Linked DNA regions of Homo sapiens: all the other regions are linked to region 2. Evidence: promoter capture Hi-C in 16 types of primary human blood cells and fetal thymus (Javierre and others, 2016). All regions are on one chromosome and are shown on one strand. The core of a region is centred on a gene start or on the middle of the fragment in contact, and the rest is flanking DNA. Distances in the headings are between cores, read along the strand shown. Region 1 has its middle 71 kb from the start of MPHOSPH6. Region 2 holds the start of SDR42E1 (short chain dehydrogenase/reductase family 42E, member 1). Region 3 has its middle 53 kb from the start of MPHOSPH6.

Evidence for each region. The method cuts DNA at HindIII sites, captures the fragments that hold promoters and counts their contacts. A CHiCAGO score of 5 or more calls a contact.
Region 1: a contact is called between a fragment that was not itself captured here and the fragment with the promoter of SDR42E1 in region 2, in 3 of 17 cell types (monocytes, M2 macrophages and M1 macrophages). The highest score is 6.7, in monocytes.
Region 3: a contact is called between a fragment that was not itself captured here and the fragment with the promoter of SDR42E1 in region 2, in 2 of 17 cell types (M2 macrophages and M1 macrophages). The highest score is 5.5, in M2 macrophages.

Annotation. Positions count from the first base shown.
Region 1 is chr16:82,238,396-82,243,190 of GRCh38, forward strand. No RefSeq gene overlaps it. Among named protein-coding and RNA genes, the nearest start is that of MPHOSPH6, 71 kb to the left of the region's middle. The HindIII fragment of the contact is 1,980 bases long and covers 1,558-3,537 here.
Region 2 is chr16:82,009,623-82,014,493 of GRCh38, forward strand. SDR42E1 (short chain dehydrogenase/reductase family 42E, member 1) reads right to left here and starts at 1,848. Exons shown (of 3, transcript NM_145168.3): 1 at 1,765-1,848. RefSeq lists a silencer at 1,623-1,772 and enhancers at 2,013-2,102, 2,113-2,192. The HindIII fragment of the contact is 9,437 bases long and covers 1-4,871 here.
Region 3 is chr16:82,220,550-82,225,450 of GRCh38, forward strand. No RefSeq gene overlaps it. Among named protein-coding and RNA genes, the nearest start is that of MPHOSPH6, 53 kb to the left of the region's middle. The HindIII fragment of the contact is 6,919 bases long and covers 1-4,901 here.

The DNA of each region.
Region 1 (4,795 bases), core at 1,298-3,797, 230 kb after region 2:
CTATTTTTTGATTTTAAAATTATGGCCGTTCTTGCAGGAGTAAAGTGGTATTGCACTGTGGTTTTGATTTGCATTTCCATGATAATTAGTGATGTTGGGCTTTTTTTATATGTTTATTGGCCATTTGTGTATCTTGCTTTGAGAATTTTCTATTCATGTCCTTAGCCCACTTTTTGATAGGATTATTTATAATTTTCTTGCTGATTTGTTTGAGTTCCTTGTAGATTCTGGATATTAGTCCTTTCTCAGATGCATAGTTTGAGAATATTTTCTCCCAGTCTGTGGGTTATCTGTTTACTCTGCTTTTTATTTCTTTTACCATGCAGACGTTTTGGGTGGGAGTGCGTGATGGATAAAAGACTGCACACTGGGTACAGCATACACTGCTCGGGTGATGGGTACACCAAAATCTCGGAAATATCTTCTTTAGTGAGGTAATCGTTCAGATCTCTTGCCCATTTATAAATTGGGTTTTTTATTCTCTTATTGCTGAGTTCTAAGAATCCCCTGTATATTTCGGGTACAATCCCTTTTTCAGAAAATTGGAAATAATCACTAAATAACTTATCCATGTAACCAGACACCACTTGTTCCCCAAAAACCGACTGAAATAAATAAAAATCCCACAAAAACAATCCCCACCCCAAAACTCTCCCCCTCAAAACAAAGCAAAACAAAACAAAAAACTCCACAACAATTGGGTGTGTCAAAGAGACATAGAAGACAACTGCAAGAGCTCCCAATGGCCAACTGGGGACAATGTGCTCTATAAAATAGAGTAGTATTGGATTATAGCCCAAGGTATGAAATCAATATCCATGCATTCATACTGATGTAAATAAATGATTAAATAAACAAATAGATGGGGGGGATACACAAATATCCTATGCAGAAGAAATGCAAGTAATTTATGTAGATACTCTTTGCTCCAAGGGGTTGGAGCATGGCTCCCATTTCTTTAGTGTGGGCTGTGCATTGTGACTTCTTCAAAAGAGTGAAGTCTGGAAAGGAGAGGAAGGGGAGTGTAACTTTGCATTGACAAACCTGGCAAACACGTCCTCAGTTGGAAGATTAAGGTCAAAATTAACAGTGACAAATTATGTTGATAGCATGCACCTTTGATATGATGTGATGAGAATGTCACTTTACCTCTGTGGTCTTCTTCTCTGCAACCTTGGTTTAATCATGAGAAAAAGATCAGACAAATTCCAATTGTTTCACATTGTACAAAATACTTGACCGCAACTTAAAAACTGTCTAAGTCTTAAAAAACAAGGAAATTCTGTGAAACTGTCATAGCAAAGAAGAGCATGGAGAGACATGTTTGGGTGGGATCCTGAAATACTGAAAGAACATTGGATGAAAACTAAGGTAATCTGAATAAAGTGTGGGCTTTGGTTAATAATAATGCTTGAATATTGATTCGTTAATTATGTCAAATGTACAATGCTAATGGAAAATGTTTATAATAGGGGATACCTGGTGTGAGGTTTAGGGGAACTTTCTATACTGTCTTTGCAATTTTTTCTGTAAATCTTAAGCCACTCTGAAATATAAAGCTTATAATTAATTAAAAAATGCACGCCAGACATTGTTCTAGGCACTAGTATGGGTAAGACATGCCCCTGTCCTCAAAGAGCTCAAGTTAGTGAGTCCACAAGGTATGTGAAAATACAGTCTAGTATTCACGTCAGAGACATGGGCAAAGGGTTTTGGAAACCTAAAGTTTAAAATGAATTGTCTTTAAACCTAAAGTTTAAAATGACTTCTAACCCACATTTTGTGAAAAAGTTAATGTTCTTCCTAAAATGTGAAAAGCTGATTGGGGGTGGTGGTGATCTTATTTCTAGGACCAGGTTTCTCTTGCTGATGAGCTCATTCCCATCTCATCTCCCACCGTGTATTATTTGCTCACATTCATGCATACCAGACAGGGTACTCATCCTGTTTCCTTCTTTTTTGCCCATGGACGTGTATTGTCAGACTTTATTGAAGATGGAAGATATAAAAGATGTTTATGAGTCTTAAATACAAAAATCTTTAAAGTATAGATTTGAGGCTCTGTTCTTTAAATTTCCTTGACCATTCCACCACAAAGAACCTCTCACCAGCACTCCAGTCTGCAGGCTCCTGCTTCCTGCCAAGAGTCTGGTCCCATCTCACATCCCTTGCCAACCTCCAATATTCTGGATGACTTCTTTTGCAGCTAAGTTTACTGTTCTGTTTATTTCTTTTCTCCCTTACAAGGCAGGTTTGGGATCTCACCTTCTTCACTCAAAGCAATCTAGCAAAGTTGTTTCTTAATAAAGATGAGTTCTTCTAAAAAAAAAATACCCAAACAAATAAAATAAATACATAGGTGCCAACTGTTAAAATAGTAGTTTCTTCGTTCGGCTACACTAGATCAGTAAACAAATGATGTGTTTCATTTGGGAGAGTTGTTAAGAAGAAGGAAGTGCCTGTTTTTTTTTCTTCTCTCTTGGTAGTTCTCAGACCACTTTACTTTCATTTGGTCTGTTGCAACACCCCAAGATGGCAGCCTCGTACTTCAGTTCTGTGTGATGTTTTGGATCAGCTCTTTCTATTTGACTCATTTTAATCAAAGTTTTGTCCACTTCTCATCATCCAATTTGACCAGGGGGATAGGGGCAAGTTCTCCATGGGCATGGCCAGCAATGCCTCAGAATATTAGTTGTCCCTGTTGTTGGGTTATTACTTACTTTATTATTCAGGACAGATTCCCTCAGCTAGATATAGCCATACCCTACAGCGGTTATGTAAGAGTCTGTAGTTTTATACATTCTTCTTTCTTTTCACTTGTCTTTTACCTTGAAATGATTAAGAGGGGGGTGTATTTCTTCAAGGGTCTATCCCAGTTAGAAAGAACTTCAAGGAGAATATTATTCGTGACTCCTTTTGTTGTGAGCTACAAAAACATAGTGTCAACTACTTTAAGCAAAAGAGGAAATGGACAGTGGAATAGCTTCCAAGATCAAGGGAAGAACTACAGGATACAGAACCTTGGCAGTGAGATGTATATATGTCTTCCCATTTCTCATCTCTCTTCTTTTTTCTTTGTTTGGCTTCTCTCTGCAGGCAGGTCCTTGCTTTCAGGCCCGGATTCCCATCCTCCTAGCTCAGTGACCCCTCGCAGAAGGAAAGTGCCTGCTTTCATGTGATGTCTGTGCATTAGTTCCAGGGAAGAGCTCTGGGCAGCCCATCTTGAGTAACATGCTCTCTTCTCGGACTAGCCACCAGGGGCATTGTGGATTATGATTGGCCTGATCTGGGACCCTTGCCATCACCAAGGGGAGTGGCTTAGGGGGCTATGACTGACAGCCTCAGAATGACAAGTGGTGGATGTAGGGCAGGCAAATCAGCCGATGTCCATTACTGAAAGGATGCTGTATTTTCCTGCTGGGATAACAAGTATAAATATTAGGTTGGTGCAAAAGTAATTGCGGTTCTTGACATTACTTTCAGTGGCAAGAGAGACACTGGGAGTAGAGAGTGAGGTTGGTGAACCTTGCAAGTTGAAGCTTTCTCTCCTCAGAATCACTTAGCCTGTGCCTTTTTCTCAGAAAGAAGAGAAAACAACCCCCTAGGCATGAAGGATTATGTGATTTGGGCAGCATGAGATCTAGATAAACTGTGGGAACAACTTCAAGGACCACTGGAGACTCTCACTGGGATACGGGGCCTCAGCTGGACCTGAAATCTCCATGGGGATGAGTGTGGTATCTTTCGTGCACTTGGGCTTTTTTCTGCGAAAGCCCCCTCTGCAGTAGGTTTCTTATTCTGAGCTGGCCTGGAATCTCGCAGCTGGCTACGATTTGTGGTACTCACACCCTGGGCTTCCTCAAGTCTGGGCAAAGAGTATGAAAAGGTTATTATTTCTCTCCTGCCTGAGGGGTTGGAGGCCTCACCTCCTGGGGCCGTTCCTAGCTCTGAATAAGAAAGTGTCTAAAGTAGTAGCGTATAAGCGTCTTTTTTTCGTATTAATGGTTGCAGTGGATTATAAAGGGGAACCCAGCAGGCGTGGAAGGGCTTGCATCCATTTCAAAAGCTCCAGTACATTCAGAGGCCAAAGAAAGTCCTTTGAGAGTGCCCTGTAAAGAGTGTTGCCAGTAGTTTTTGTAACCGTAAGCCCTGGCAGGGATTCTGGACCAAACTGATGTCATTTCATTTTCCATTCCGATCACAGTCTAGTAGAGTCAAGTGGAAGTCCAGCTGGGGTCTCGTTTTTAGCTTTAAGAGAAAGCCATACAGGACTCATTCAAAAAACTTTTGTGAAGGTCTTTCCATTGGCAGGACCTGGGGCCAGGATTGGGGAGCTGCATGCCCCTATCCTCAGGGAGCTCACAGTTTAAACCATAGAAGTTCGTAAGTCGTACATAACTATAGCATAAAACTGCATAGGAACAGAACTCTGAGAGAGGTAGAAGACAATGACTCAGTTTGGAGGGGAGATACTTTTTTTTTTTTTAACCAGGCAAGGTCATGGGGTATGAAGTAGAGAAGGGGGATGGATCACAATTTTATCACTGGCGTGTATCCATGACCTCCTTGGAGTCCAAAGAGAAACACCAGAAAGAAACATCAAGAAATTGTCTCTTTTGCCAAATCTAAGAATATATTAGCGATGTCATGATATTTCCTGAACAAAGAGATATCTCAGAATTGCAATAAGGGAGGGTGTTTTAAAAGAGCTATGTACAAATTAAAAAAACATTTTTTCTTGTTATAGTATTTCCCAATACTTTCCGAATTTAGACTTCCCTCTCCCTTTTCTACC
Region 2 (4,871 bases), core at 598-3,097:
CTAGGAAGTAACTAACTTGCTTTTGATTTTACAGGCTTATAGGTGGAAGGGGCTTGCCTTGCCTCAGATGAGACTTTGGAGTGTGGACTTTTGAGTTAATGCTAAAATGAGTTAAGACTTTGTGGGACTGTTGGGAAGGCATGATTGGTTTTGAAATGTGAGGGCATGAGATTTGGGAGGGGCCAGGGGCGGAATGATATGGTTTGGCTGTGTCTCCACCCAAATCTCACCTTGAATTGTAGATCCCATAATTACCACGTGTCCTGGGAGGGACCCAGTGGGAGGTAACTGAATCACAGGGGTGGGTTTTTCCCATGCCGTTCTCTTGATAGTGAATAAGTCTCAAAAGATCTGATGGTTTTATAAAGGGGAGTTCCCCTACACAAGCTCTCTTGCCTGCCACCATATAAGACGTAAGATGTGACTTTGCTCCTCTTTTGCCTTCTGGCATGATTATGAGGCTTCCCCAGCCATGTGGAACTGTGAGTCCATCAAACCTCTTAACTTTATAAATTACCCAGTCTTGGGTATGTTTTTATTAGCAGCATGAGAATGGATTAATACAGGTAGTTTAAAGGTTTAGCATTTAAGCCTCAGGACAATCTTCCGAAGTTGTTACTAGTATTATCATCAGCTTTCAGAAATGAGGAAAATAGATCAGAGGTTAGGAACCTTGCCCACAAATTATGCAGGTCATAAGGGGTTGGGCAGGGTTCAGGACTTGAAGCCGGGTCTGTATGACTCTTAACCACTACATGTAATGCCGCACAATAAGGCTGGGACAATACAGATTCGCTTAGGTCATTATCTTATCACTGTGAAAGGAAAATAAATCTTGGGGTCCCAAGATCACTAAGCTAAAGGGAAAAGTCAAGCTGAGAACTGCTTAGGGCAAACCTGCCTCCCATTCTATTCATGTATCTCTGCTCACTAAAATAAAGGCATATCTGATTGCTTCCTTTGGAGAGGCTAATCAAACTCAAAATAATGCAACCATTTGTCTCTTACCTACCTATGACCTGGAAGCCCCCTCCCCGTTTCGAGTTGTCCCGCCTTTCCAGACCGAAAAACATGTTCATCTTACATCTGTTCTTGTCTCATGTCTCCCTAAAATGTAGAAAACGAAACTGGGCTCTGACCACATTAAGAATACATCGTCAGGACCGCCTGAGGCTGTGTCATGGGTACATGTCTTCAACCTTGGCAAAATAAACTTTCTAAATGAACTGAGACCCGTCTCAGATTTTCAGGGCTCACTCCACCTCCACAATTTCTGTCACATCTGATTCATCTGGTATTATGACTAGCCTATAAGGTTTTGTTTAAACCTACTTACCTTTTCCCAACAAATACATGCAGTTTAAATGGGAACCTGTCACTGCCACTTTTAAGTGGCAAACCAGAACCAAGTGATAAAGAGGAGGTAATCGTTCTCCCAAAGTGTGCAGAAAATCAAAGACAGGAATCAAGTATAGCCAGCCACCTGTGGAAAGTTCGGAGCTTGGGGCCCCGATGTCCTTAAAAACAAAAAATGCGGAGGGCCAGTGTTTGAGGCCTTGGCGACATTCTAGAAAGCCAAGCTGCGCCCGGTCCCCTGGGATCAGGAAGACATCTGAAAGGGGATACTCCTTCCCGCCACCCTGCTCAGTCATTCACCACCGTCCCCCACCCCCGGGACCGCCACCTGTCGCGTTCCAGGCCGAGGCGGTCCAGGGTCCCCGCGGAAGGGCGGCGGCCCCCCAACCCCAGCCCAGGCCCACTCACAGCTGCAGGAACAAGGGCGCGGCAGACGGCTACAGCAGGCAGAGAGGCCCAGGCCTCCTAGCTACCCATCACCACAGCTGGGGCGCCGAAGCCGTCGGACCTGCCTCCTGGAGCCACTTCCGGGCCTCTCTAGGAAGCCTGGAGGTCTCGGAGTCTCTATGACGCGCAGGTGTCTCCTTCACCTTCACCGGCGTTGAGGTAGCAGGAGGTTCGCTTCATGAATTCCCCCACGTTCTCTGGCTGTGCGTTCCGCCGTGGCGGGAACCCTTTTAGGGTCACGTCTTCCCCCACGTCCCCTGTCTGTGCGTTCCGCCGTGGTGGGAACCCTGTTAGGGCCACGTCAACTGCTCTTCCCACCTCCAGTGTCTGCTTTTAGACTTTCACCTCCATCTTTGTTTATCCCCAAGGCCAAGACCAGTGCCTGATAAATAGGCACTCAGGTCAGCATTGCTTGGGTGGATGGATGATGGAAAAGGCTCTATAGGGAGGCAGAATATTCACTCTCCATGTATCTCTTTAAGTTTCTATTATCTCTGAGTTTCCATATCTATGTGTGCCCATAGGTTTTCCTGTGTCCCTAATTTTCCTTATTTCTCTTTGTTCTGGTCGCCAAGCAGGCAGTGATGCCAAGACTAATCTTTGTTGCTGAAGGAACCAAGGAATGCAGAAAGGAAAGTTGGCATCCTCACTCAGAGGTCTCCTTTTGAGGCCCATCTTTTGTCTCCTCATCATGAGTGTGGTTCTGTGGATGGTTGCAGACTGTACACGTGTATGGACATGCATCCTGGAATGGACCCCTGGCTGGGGAGGATTTCATTTTAGTGTCTTGGAGGATGGAAGTTTTGACTTCATGTGGTGCTCTTGCCGATAGATCTGGTACCAAAGGCAGACTCAGAGAGGTTCATATCAATTGCCTGATTTACTGCTCAGTTTTCACTAAGCACACACAGTCACAAGGACAAAGCTCAAGTCCTAGGATATAAAAATTAATGAAGCCCAGGTGAAGAAATCAAGAAGTGCCAGTCCCTGGCACTGGCCTCTCTCATAGGATGCTCTGGCTTTCCTGCCTGTCTTGTCCTCACCTATTAGGCAGGCATAAGTCACAGGAGACTTCTTGTGCTAAGCAGTCTTAAAGAACAGCTTTGCAGTGGCTGCTTAGGATACATAAAAATTAGAAGAGAAGAGGAAGGGTATTCAGGGGGCTGAGAGACCAGCTATATGCTCTTGAGGCCAGCAGCTAAGGAAGAAAAGACCCACTGAGGATGCAGTAAAGAAGACAGACTTCCTTTGGGGAATTACAGGATCCTCTGAGGGATACCCAGATTTAGAGTGTGTGGATAAACATGAGAAATGGTGAATTTAAATGTTAGTATTCTTGTGCCACCGAGGACTCTTTTAAAATATAATCAGGCGTGTTTTAAAGGAAAATTACAAACTCTATAATTGCTTCCTTAGCTTCCATCATAATTTAGTGAGTTGATTTTATAAAGGTCTGACCAAGAGATCTAAGACAGAAATGACTGGAGAAAGAAATTAACTTCAATGTGAGTTTGTATATCAGTGTTTGTTTAGTATTGTCTTCCCCCAATAATATGTCCAGGCAGTGGATGCATCTCAGAAAGATCAGTTTGCTGTCACAATTACTCACAGGTGTGCAGTATTTTATTTCTCACTCCGATCACAGTCCAATTCAGTCTGCAGGGAAGGGGAAGAGTGCTGTGCTCCACATAATCACTCAGGGACCCAGGCTTCCCCCATTTGTTATGCCATCATGTTCAACTCTTGGCTGCCAAGGTCACTACAGAAGAGGAAGTAAGAGCTTGGCTTTCCCCAACACTTTCACTTAAAGTCTCCTGCATCCCCTTGAAATTCTTCAATCTCTTCACAGCACTTAGCTCATCTGAAATTATCTTGCATGTTGCTATAATGAAAGCTCCGTGAGTGCAGAGACCTGCTTGATTGATTGGTGTATCTCCACTACCTACTATAGTGTCTGGCATAGAGACAGAATTTTTTTTTTTTTTTTTTTTTTTTTTTTACTGGTGAATGAATCAGCAAATGAATATATGTCACATTTCTGGTTGTCCCTGTTCAAAATCCCAGGCTTGCAAACGACACCTTCTTTTGGCCCAGCTTGGATCAGAAATCACCTCTACCATTGTCAGCTGTGGCAAAAGGACACAAGAACTGCTATAAACTGTGGTCATTTCTAAAGAACGGAAATTATTGTGAGCTTGGTAGGCACATGAGAACTTTGCTATCCAAAAGTGTGGATCAGTAACATCAACATCACCTGAGAGCTTATTAGAAATGTTGGGTCTTGGATCCCATTCTAGGCTTAATAAATACAAATCTGTATTCAGCAAAATCCCTAGGTAATTCCTATGTATAGTAAAGGCTGATAAGCACTGCCCTAAAAGTGCTATGACTTAGTAGTAGTAGCACTACAACTCTCTGAGGTGGGTAAGAGAAACCTTGTAATAGTTCCACACTGCATCTGGAAATCAGGTGAGTTTAAGTGACTTACCCAAGGTCACAGAACTAGTAAATGACAGACCTGTGATTAAAAGCCAAGGCTTCTGGCCGGGTGCGGTGGCTCACGCCTGTAATCCCAGCACTTTGGGAGGCTGAGGCGGGCGGATCACGAGGTCGGGAGATCAAGACCATCCTGGCTAACACAGTGAAACCCTGTCTCTACTAAACATACAAAAAATTAGCTGGGTGAGGTGGTGGGCACCTGTAGTCCCAGCTACTTGGGAGGCTGAGGCAGGAGAATGGCGTGAACCCAGGAGATGGAGCTTGCAGTGAGCCGAGATCACGCCACTGCACTCCAGCCTGGGCGACAGAGTGAGACTCTGTCTCAAAAAAAAAAAAAAAAAAAGCCAAGGCTTCTGACTCCCATATCCTCCACATTCCATCTATTTCACCATGCAGCTGTCTTTCCTAGATAAACCTATTTTCTTTCACTAATAAAAAAAATATAAAGGGGAATAGACAGAAAAAAATTGAGCTATATTTAAACAGTGGTTAATGGCTTCAATAATTGATTTTAGAAAAGAAAACAAGCATTTATCACATGCAGTACATTTCATAAAATGGTTTTCCTC
Region 3 (4,901 bases), core at 211-2,710, 210 kb after region 2:
GTGTGGTGTGTGTGTACGATGTGTGTTGTGTGGTGTGTGTGTGCTGTGGTGTGTGGTGTGTGTGTGGTGTGGTGTGTGTGGTGTGTGTATGATGTGTGTGTGTGCTGTGCATGGTGTGTGTGTGGTGTGTGGCATATGCGTATGATGTGTGTGGTGTGAGTGTATGATGTGTATGTGGTGTGTGGGGTGTGTGTGGCGTGTGCATGGTGTGTGTGGTGTGTGAGTGTGCGGTGTGGCATGTGTGGTTTGTGTATGTGGTGTGGGGTGTGTGTGGTGTGTGTGTGATGTGTGTGTGTATGATGTGTGTGTGTGTGTTGTATGGTGTGTGTATGATGTGTGTGTGGTATGGTGTGTGTGCAGTGTGTGTGGTATGTGTGTGTGGTGTGTGTGGTGTGTGGTGTGTATATGATGTATGTGTGTGTGTATGGTGTGAGTGTGTGACATAAGCATGGCAAAGGGCAGGATTACACCGAAAGCCAAAGCAAGAACCTTCTTTTTTTCCATCTTTCCTTTCTTTTCTTTTCTTTCCTTTTCCCCTTTCTTTTCTCTTCTGATTACTTCAGTCTTCTCTTCCTCATTTTCCCTTTTATTCTATACTTCCCTTTAAAAATGTTTCATAACTTTAAAAAAATTGACATATCATAGTTCGTACTTGGGGGGTACACGTGATGTTTTGATACCTATATACAATGTGTAGTGATCAAATCATGGCAATTGGGTTACCTATCACCTCAAACATTTTTCTTTCCCCTGTGTTGGGAACGTTACAATTCTTTCTCTTCTAGCTACTTTTAAATCTACAATAAATTATTGTTAACTATAATTTCCCTACTGAACTATCAAATACTAAAACTTATTCTTCCATGTAACTGTATTTTTGTACCCATTAACCAACTTCTCTTTCCCCCTTTTCCTCCTTCCCTCCCCAGCCTCTGGTAAGCACTATTCTACTCTCTACCGCCATGAGATCTATTTTTTTTTAGCTACCACATAGGCATGAGAACATGTGATATTTGTTTTTGTGTGCCTGGCTTATTTCACTTAACATAATGACCTCCAGTTCCATCCATGTTTCTGCAAATGACAGGGCTTCACTCTTTTTATTGCTGAATAATATTCCATTGTGTATACAAACTACATATTCTTTATCCATTGATGCACACTTAGGTAGAGTCCGTATCTTGACTGTTGTGAATAGTGCTCTAATAAACATGGGAGTGCAGTATATCTTCAATATAATGATTTCCTTTCTTTTGGATATATACCCAGCGGCGGTATTTTTGGATCATATGGCAGTTCTATTTTTAGTTTTTTGAGGATCTCCATAATATTTTTCGTATGGCTGTACTACTTTGCATTTCTACAACAGTATACAAGAATTCCCCTTTCTCTGCATTCTTTCCAGGATTTGTTTTATTTTATTTTATTTATTTTATTTTTGAGATGGAGTCTCGTTCTGTCACCCAGGCTGGAGTGCAATGGCATGGTCTTGGCTCACTGCAACCTCCACCTCCTGGGTTCAAGCGATTCTCATGCCTCAGCCTCCTGAGTAGCTGGGATTACAGGTGTGTGCCATCATGCCCAGCTAATTTTTGTATTTTTACTAGAGATAGGGTTTCGCCATATTGGGCAGGCTGGTGTGGAACTCCTGACCTCAAGTGATCAGCCTGCCTCAGCCTCCCCAAGTGCTGGGATTACAGGTGTGAGCCACTGTGCCCTCCGGGATTTATTATTTTGTATCTTCTTGATAATAATCAATCTAACTGGAGTGAGATGATATCTCATTGTGGTTTTGATTTGCATTTCCCTGAAGATTAGTGATGTTGAGTTTTTTTTTTTTTTTGCTTAACTTTCGGCCATTTGTATATTTTCTTTTGAGAACTGGCTGTTCAGGTTTTTTGCCCATTAAAAAAAACTAGGAATGGGGTCAACTGGGGTGTTGCCCAGGCCAGCTTCAAACTCCTGGGCTCAATCCTCTTGCCTCAGCCACCTGAGTAGTTGGGACTATAGGCATGTGCCTCTGTGCCTGTGTCCGTTTTAAGATCAGATTATTTGCTGTTGTTTGTTTTATTGCTCTTGAGTTGTTTGAGTTCCTTATATATTCTGGTTGTTAATTCCTTATCGGATGGTGCTATAGTTCGGATATCTGACCTTCCAAACCTTCTATTGAAATTTGATCCCCAACAATGGAGGTGGGGCCTAATGGGAGGTGTTTGGGTCATGGGGGCAGATCCCTCATGAATGACTTGGTGCCATCCTTGTGGTAATGAGCGAGTTATCCCTCTATTAGTTCCAAAGAGCTGATTGTTTAGAGTCTGGTGGTACCTTTCACCCCTCTCTCTTCCCTGCTGTCACACCGTGTGGTCTGTGTACACACCTGCTCTCCTTCACCTTCCACCATGAGTGGAAGCAGCCTGAAGCCCTCACCAGAAGCAGAAGCTGGTGCCAGGATTCTTGTACAGCCTGCAGAACAGTGAGCTAAATAAACCTCTTTTCTTTATAAGTCACCTAGTCTCAGGTATTCCTTTAAAGCAACACAAACTGAGACAGATGGATAGTTTGCAAATATTTTCTCCCATGCTGTAGGTGGTCTTTTCACTTCATTAATTGTTCTCTTTGCTGTGCAGAAGTTTTTGGCTTGATACAATCACATTTGTCTGTTTTCGCTTTTGTTACTGATGCTTTTGAAGTCTAACCCCCAAAAATCTTTCCCCAGATCAAAGTTTTTTTTTTTTTTTTTCTAGTAGTTTCATAGTATCAGGTCTTACCTCTAAGTCCTTAATCCATTTGGAGTTGACTTTTGTATAGGGTGAAAGATGGGGATTTATCTCACTTTTTCACATCCACTATACTTATCTTCCCTCCTATCTTTTTTGTATACATGGTTATAGGATTTTCACCAGTGTTTTATTATGTTTTTAGAAAACATGTTTTGCAGAAGAGAAACTCTTATGAATTTTCTGTTGTGCTTCAAATCGTAATCATTCAAGGAATATATCCCAAATAGCTCTGATAGGAAACACTATTGAACAATTAGTAAGATATGTTCATAAGAATCATTATGAGGAATAAAAACAACTAAGGTTCTTAAAAAGAAAAAAATACTTCCAACTGTAAAAATATCATTTTTTATTAGAATGATCTTCATTTACTTCAACACAAATAAATTTAAAGCAGCATTAGAAAATGTAGCATTTAATAAAGTCTTTATACATCCTGTTCTCAACTGACATTTTTTCCTTAAGAAATACCTGAATTTGGTTGTGACATTAAATTCGCAAAGTTTGGCTCTGTATTTTTAGTGCCTTATTTGTGATTTTGTTGTTTTAAAATAAAAGCTATTCAGTGTGAATAAATTTGAATTGGCAAGCAGAATGGCCTACTACCAAACATTCAGTAACCAGATTCAATAACCACATGCCAAGCCAGAACATTGGAAAAATCCTCAAGTTAATTAAAACAAAGGCTTTAATATTTCTTAGCATTTGCAGCTGTTCTATCCAGAGAGGGCAGGCGCCTGCTGGGTTGTGTTAGCCTGGGATTAGTAGTTCAGGAAAAAGCAAAAGCAAAGTGAGCTCGTTTATTAAGTTTTCTGATGTTCAGTTTCTTCTGTGAAATGGGTATAATAGTAATAGTACTTACCTTGTAGGTATTCATATTATTATAAAATAAGAAATTGGGTATATGAAAAATTGAGTATGGTATATATTAGTTATTATTCAGTGCTCAGAGGGACAGAGGTCATTGTTCTCAAAGGTTTTGCTCTAAGTTTCATTTTTGCTTTTCATTTATGGTTTGACTGCAGCAGACATCTGTATCCATTGTCTTGATGAGGTCTTAATACCTTCATTGAAAATTTTATGAGAGGATAATAATAAGCTCATTTAAAAGTTTAAATGTCCATGGTCATTATATTAAAGTTCTCCAGAGAAATAAAACCAGTAGAATATGTAAAGAGAGATATGAGAAGTGATTTATTATGAGGACTGGCTCACTTGGTGAGGCAAGAGAAGACCCTTGATATGCCATTTGTAGCTGGTGGGGTAATTCAGTTTAAGTCCAAAGGCCTGAGAACCTGGAGGGTGGGGAGGTGGGTGGTTGGTGCGGACATAAGTCCTGGAGTCTGAAGGCCCAAGAACCAGGAGCTCCATTGTCAAATGCCAGGAGAAGATGGATATCCCAGCTCAAGAAGAGAGAAAGAGAGAGAATTCACCCTTCCTCCATCACTTTGTTCATTCGTGCCCTCAATGGATTGGATAGTGAAGATTGATCTTCTTTGTTGAGTTTACTGATTCAAATGCTAATCTCTCCTAGACTCACCTGGGAATAATATTTTACTAACTATCTGGGCATGCATTAGCTCAGTCATGTTGACACATAAAATTAACCATCATAGTCATTATCTTCAAAAAGTCCCTGGGACTGTGAGTTTCTTAAGGAAAGTCCATATATTATTATTCATGTCACTGCCTGGTTCTTGGTTGATGATAAGGCAATGCTTGTAGCATGACCCAATCTACGACCCTGTTTATAGGAGGCGATGGTGATCCAGTCCATTATTAAGCAATTAGCATTTGGGAATCAAGCACATGCAGTTCAAGAGAATACCCTAAATGATCCTTTATTCTCAAGTTGAACTGAGTCCATAGGTAGAATAAGATTTTGGAGTAGCCCCCTTTTGTCTTCAGCTTCAGACCTGTTTATTCTTCTTGGCCTCTGCAGCAGCTTCTCAACCATCCAGCTCCATTTGGCTCCACTCTAGAATGAGTGGTGGTTGTGGTAGGTTTTGATCCTGACAACTGGATCTTTTATACTGCCAACATTGATCCCATGGCAGTTTCTGTTTGTTATGATGCTAATAGTCTTCATCTCTTTTTCTTCTACATTGAATTTTATCACTA